2 separate regions of the Homo sapiens genome follow, and region 2 is linked to region 1. Evidence: promoter capture Hi-C in human tissues and cell types (Jung and others, 2019). All regions are on one chromosome and are shown on one strand. The core of a region is centred on a gene start or on the middle of the fragment in contact, and the rest is flanking DNA. Distances in the headings are between cores, read along the strand shown.

The links. Contacts are between HindIII fragments. The study calls those that stand out against the background at their distance.
Region 2: a fragment that was not itself captured here is called in contact with the fragment with the promoter of TMEM50B in region 1 in 1 of the 25 tissues and cell types used here (heart left ventricle).

Annotation. Positions count from the first base shown.
Region 1 is chr21:33,478,641-33,481,443 of GRCh38, forward strand. TMEM50B (transmembrane protein 50B) reads right to left here and starts at 1,334. Exons shown (of 7, transcript NM_006134.7): 1 at 1,198-1,334. The HindIII fragment of the contact is 12,756 bases long and covers 1-2,803 here.
Region 2 is chr21:32,452,276-32,455,078 of GRCh38, forward strand. It overlaps EVA1C (eva-1 homolog C), which reads left to right. Exons shown (of 8, transcript NM_058187.5): 2 at 1,037-1,233. It also overlaps the pseudogene LOC101928078. Among named protein-coding and RNA genes, the nearest start is that of EVA1C, 41 kb to the left of the region's middle. The HindIII fragment of the contact is 7,901 bases long and covers 1-2,803 here.

The sequences.
Region 1 (2,803 bases), core at 84-2,583:
ATATACGTCCCCACCTCACTCTAATTAAACCTGCTTTTCCAGCGCGATAAATATTCAAGATAACTTTTGGTTTGCATTTCAATAACAAAGTCTTGCACCACTATCTTCAGTTTAAAAAAAAAGTTTAATGTTTGCTCTACGTTTGAAATGCATGCAGGTTTAAAAGACAAGAAACAAAATGATGAAAAAGTGTGACCGGCCTGAGAGTTCAGAGCCTCTGAAGTGTCAAGGGATCCACAGTGCAGGTAGGATGAAGAGTCTGAGAAGGGAGATGGGATCCTCCGAAAAGAGAAAATCGGGTCTTACAGCGCGATGTAAGACGATGCGGATGCCACTTCCCTCCCACCCCGTCCCGTCCGAGGCCTCCGCCCCCTGCCCCTCCGCACCCCCCGACCCAGGCACGCGCAGCGGGGAGCAGCCCAGCCTAGCCCGTCTCACTGCTTTGGTTTTGAAAGGTCACGTATTTACCTTAGAATTTCAGCACCTTCCAACTTACTGTTTTAAGTACCTTTAACCAGCCTATTGGCTAAAAACCGAAACGGTCCTACCCGCGACTACCACTGCTCCAGTGACAATGCTCTGCTGCTACTTATTTAACGGAGCTCAAGGTTTATAATTCTCGAAAGAATGTTGTTCCCCTTCCCTTTCCCCTCCCGCCTCTGTACTTGACTCTCGTAAGAATGAAATCAGAAAAGTGCAGAAAACACAGGCTCCTAGCAATGGTTCGGGGCAAACGGGAGGGGCGAAGAAGGGCTGGAGCCGCCCCGGGGCCCTCGCTCCGGCCTCGGGAGGGCGTCGCGGCCGCAGCAGGGCGTCCCGAAAACCGTCGCCTCCGTGCCCGCCGCGCGAGAAGGTGAAAGGCACGAGATGGAGCCTCTCCAGCCCTCCCCAGGAACGCAACCTGACGGCGTGACAGCGCGGCAGGGCAGCCTCCCCGGGCTGCTTGCGGGTCGCGGCGGCGCCACGGTCACGGTCGGCCCGAAGGGACGCGGGCAGGGGCAAGAAGGGGCGGCGGGGGCTCCGCGGGCCCGAGTCTGCAGGCCGGCGCCGAACGCAGGGAAAACCCGGCTGGACGGCCCCACAGCCCCCAGAAGGCCGGGCCGGACAGGGCCCGACGAGGGAGCCTCCTTACGCGCGGGCGGCGGGCGCGAGCCCTCTACGGTTGCCTGGCGCCGGAGACCCACAGACAGGACTCACCCAGCTTCCTCAAACGCCCACGCCGACTTCAGGCGCGCGCGCAGGAAGGAGACTGCTGCGCCACAACCCTGCCGGCGTCCCGCGGCTCCACCTCAGCCCCGGGAGCCCGGAGCTGGGAGCAGACGCGAGGATAGAGCGCCGGTGAGGCGGGGCGAGGCGCCGTGTGCACCGCAGCGACCAATCGGAGCGCAGCAAGTGGCCGGCCGGGGGCGGGGCGGGACGCGAGGGGGCGGGGAGAGGGCGTTGGCTGGGCGCAGCGGGACGCCGGGCGCTCCTCGCGACCAATCGGCGTGCAGCAAGTGGCCGGCCGGGGGCAGGGCGAGCTCCGAGGGACGGGGTGGGCTGCTCTGCAGGCCTCCCGGAGCCGGAGTTCAGACCCAGCTATCTACGGTTCCGGGCAGAGCGGGACGGGCCTCTCCTGTCCCCTGCCGGTGGGCGGCCGCCGCCGGGCTCCCACTGCTGCGTTTCTGCACGCTGACTTGAAGTGCAGTACCGTGAGATTACGTGCGGACGGAGCTCGAGACCCGGGGGACCAGGGTTTCCCTTCGCCTATGGCCGATCAGTCTTGTCTGTCTGCGAGCTGCCCAGAGTAGGGAAGGTGCTCCGGGAGGGTTCTCGGGAACGGAGGGTCTTTAGAGATGCCTTTTTCTAATCCCCTCAATTCAGAAATGGAGCCCCAGAAAGTTGAAGTTAGTAAACCAGGGCTACCCAGCGAGTGCTGGTTACCCGAGGTGATCCTCACAATACAACTAGTCTTCTGATTTCGCTCGGCGCTCTCCCGTCTATTCACGTAGATTTTTGTCTTTTTTTTTTTTTTTCGTCTTTCTTATAGTCAGATATCTTTCAGCCTCTTGGATTTTCAACATAACTTTAACAGCGTTTGGAAGCCCCGTCTAAATTTCCTACAGAAATGCCTATAACCATTTAGTTGTTTGGGGGAAAGTCGAGCTTTGTTTTTTGGGTGGTTTGTTTGTTTGTTTTGAGACAGGGTCTTGCTCTGTTGTCCAGGGTGGAGTGCAGTGGTGTGATCTTGGCTCACTGCAGCCTCTTACCTCCCACGCTCAATCAATCCTCCCACCTCAGCCTTCCGAGTAGCTGGGATTACAGGTGCGCACCACCATGCTTGGCTAATTTGTGTATTTTTAGTAGAGACGGGATTTCACCTGGCTGATCCTGAACTCCTGACCTCAGGTGATCCACCCGCCTCTGCCTCCCAAAATGCTGGGATTACAAGCGTGGGCCACTGTGCCCAGCCAAGTAGAGTTATTATCAGTGGAAATCTAAAAAGCATTTTACTTGAGGCATAATGAAGTAAAAGGTTTTGTATCATGGAATTATCACCAAAAATGCCATCCTGGATAATGTTCTCCTATAGCTCTTATACATGGGCTAGGATCTAGGTGTTCAATAAATATGTGCTGAATAATTTACTTTTGAAATATGTCACAATGCTGGCATTCCACCAGAAGAGAGGATACAGAAGGGAACACTCTCCTCTCTTTAAGAACCTTTTGAAAGGGGCGGGGGTTGCATGTACCATTTTTGTTTTCATTCTGCTAGTAAAATAGTCACTTGACTACACCAAATTGCAAAGAAGGCTGGAAAA
Region 2 (2,803 bases), core at 228-2,727, 1.0 Mb before region 1:
AGTGGGCCATCCCAGACCGAGGTTTCTGACCCAGACATTGAAACAGGAGGAGTTCCCTTATCCCCCCTTGCAGGGCACGTGACAGGGGCATGGCTCGCTTCTCAGTACCCTGCTGCTCAAACCCCTAGAGGGGGCATGCAGATGGACAGGTCGTGGGGAGCGTTTTTGGGCTCCGACCCCACAGCAGCTTGTAGAATTGGGTGTTTACAGCTCCCGAAGCCCCAGTGGGCATGTGTTACAGTGGTCTCCTTCAGTTTTGCCATCTGCAGGCGGCTTGTGTTAATCAGCTCAATTAGACCCTCTGCCTTATCACAAAGACAGATGGCTTTCTGTATCCCAGGTTCTTGCCCTAGTGTACTCGGAAAATCAGATTTCGCATGGACTTGGAGAAGGAGTGCAAGGTTTTATTGAGTGGAGGAGGTGGCTCTCGGATGGGGAGCCAGAAGGGGGATGGAGTGGGAAGGTGGTCTTCCCCTAGAGTTGGGCTGCCCAGCAGCCAGACTCTCCTCCGACCGCCCCCGACTGATTTCCACATCGCCCCGCTGTCGAAAGCCCGCCAGCATCTGCTGGTGTCTGTCAGTGTGCTCTTCTGCTTCTCTGCTCCTCTCGACGTCCAGCCACTTGTGTGTGTGCCCACTAGGGTCTTGGGTTTTTTATGGGCACAGGATGGGGGTCATGGCAGGCCAGAGTAGTCTTGGAAAATGCAACATTTGGACATGAAAACAGGAGTGCCTGTTCTCACTAAGGTCCATGGGCACAAGCCCATGGGTGGAGCCCTCGCCAGGGACCCCACCCTTCTCTACCCAGCACTCCCCTGCCCCCCTTCCATGTCAACATGAAAGCTGACATTGGCTCCTGTGCCCCACCTCTGGGCCTGGTTTGGTGACCTCTGCACCAGAGCTGCTAGGGAGGCCCCATCCCACATGTTGTTGATTGAACAGCCCTTCCCCAGGGGAACCAACGTCCTCCTGTCCCCAAACCCATGGAGGAGTGGTGGGTTCCTGGGCCTCTAGTAACTCGACTGAATATTTTCCAGGTTACCTAACCAAACTCCTGCAAAACCACACCACCTATGCCTGTGATGGGGACTATTTGAATCTACAGTGCCCTCGGCATTCTACGATAAGTGTCCAATCGGCATTTTATGGGCAAGATTACCAAATGTGTAGTTCCCAGAAGCCTGCCTCCCAGAGGGAAGACAGCTTAACCTGTGTGGCAGCCACCACCTTCCAGGTATTGCCTTTTGTAGACATGTTAAGATGATACAGTTTCAACACACACTCTTTCTCTCTCTCTGGGTATAAATATATTTGTGATTATATAGTTCAATCCAAGCAAAACTGATCCATGAAAAATCCCAATTTATACAGATCACCAGTTTTGTAGGTGAGCTATTATTTGCTTCTCAAAGGATTTGTTGCCCAACAAAACTAAATAGAATTCCTACCTATTGTAGAGCCCCCTTTGTACACTTCAATATGAATTTATTTGTAGGTTTACTCCTTACTTTAGTATAGCAAAGTACAACCAGGATGGATTCCAACCTCCAGGCCCACATCTCCCATAAATACTCCTGTAGAAAGGGAAGGTAGGTTCTTTAATGGAAACCACAAGTATCTCTTTGAGGCAGACATCTGAAGTCATGACCAACTTTTTAGAAAATGTACTCAAAGGGCTGGGCGCGGTGGCTCATGCCTGTAATCCCAGCACTTTGGGAGGCCGAGGTGGGTGGATCATGAGGTCAGGAGTTCAAGACCAGCCTGGCCAATATGGTGAAACCCCATCTCTACTAATAATACAAAAATTAGCCGGGCATGGTGGCACGCACCTGTAGTCCCAGCTACTTGGGAGGCTGAGGCAGAAGAATCGCTTGAACCCAGGAGGCGGAGGTTGCAGTAAGCTGAGATCATGCCACTGCACTCTAGCCTGGGCAACAGAGCGAGACTCCATCTCAAAAAAAAGAAAATGTATTCAAGGAAGGAAATATCAGTAATATCAGTAACTGCCTTGTGCTTTTTAATGATTTGCTTCTTCAGTTGTAGATAATCATGTCATTCTTGCTTGGAGCTATTTTAGGCAGCCTTTACTGACTCCTTCCTTCTACTACATAGTACCAGGAATTGGGAGAGGTGTGGTTTAAGTCATTCTTTTTGTGGTTGGCATATTTAGGGAAAGATTTGGTATAGGAGAAGGTCAAACTAATATTTCAATGATGGTTTTAGACTGTGCATGGCTTTCAATCATCTGAGCAACTTCTACTTCACCATCCCTGGCCCCTAACATATATAACTAGTTGACCAGGATTACTGAGTCACTTGGCCTTGGATTTTTTTTTTTATGCCTCCCAAGTTCCATATGAATACATTTAAAGCAGGGAGTTTAGAGCAGGTGGAAAGTTGGAAGTCTGTTTGATTTTGTCGACCGTAGGAAATATGGATAAAGATACATTTGCTAGAACTAAGGAGAAATAAGAGTAGCTTTAATGCTGTGTAGCTCTCCCTAAGGCCCAAACAGGAGACGCAAACTAATGTGATGATGTAAGAATTTTTCTATTTCTCACACCATCCCTTGCTTCCACTCCAAGCATGGTAGTATCTGGGTATTTAGGTGATTGGTGAAACACACCAATTGAGTAGCCAAAATGAATGTGTCTGAATGACTCCCCATGACATGGTTTCTATACCTTGAGGAGAGACAACATGTTTCTTCAGGAGACAAGAAGTTGCTTTCCCTGTGTGCTCCACTGTCTTAGTCCTTTTTGTGCTGCTATAACAGTGTACCTGAGCCTGGGTAATTCATAAGG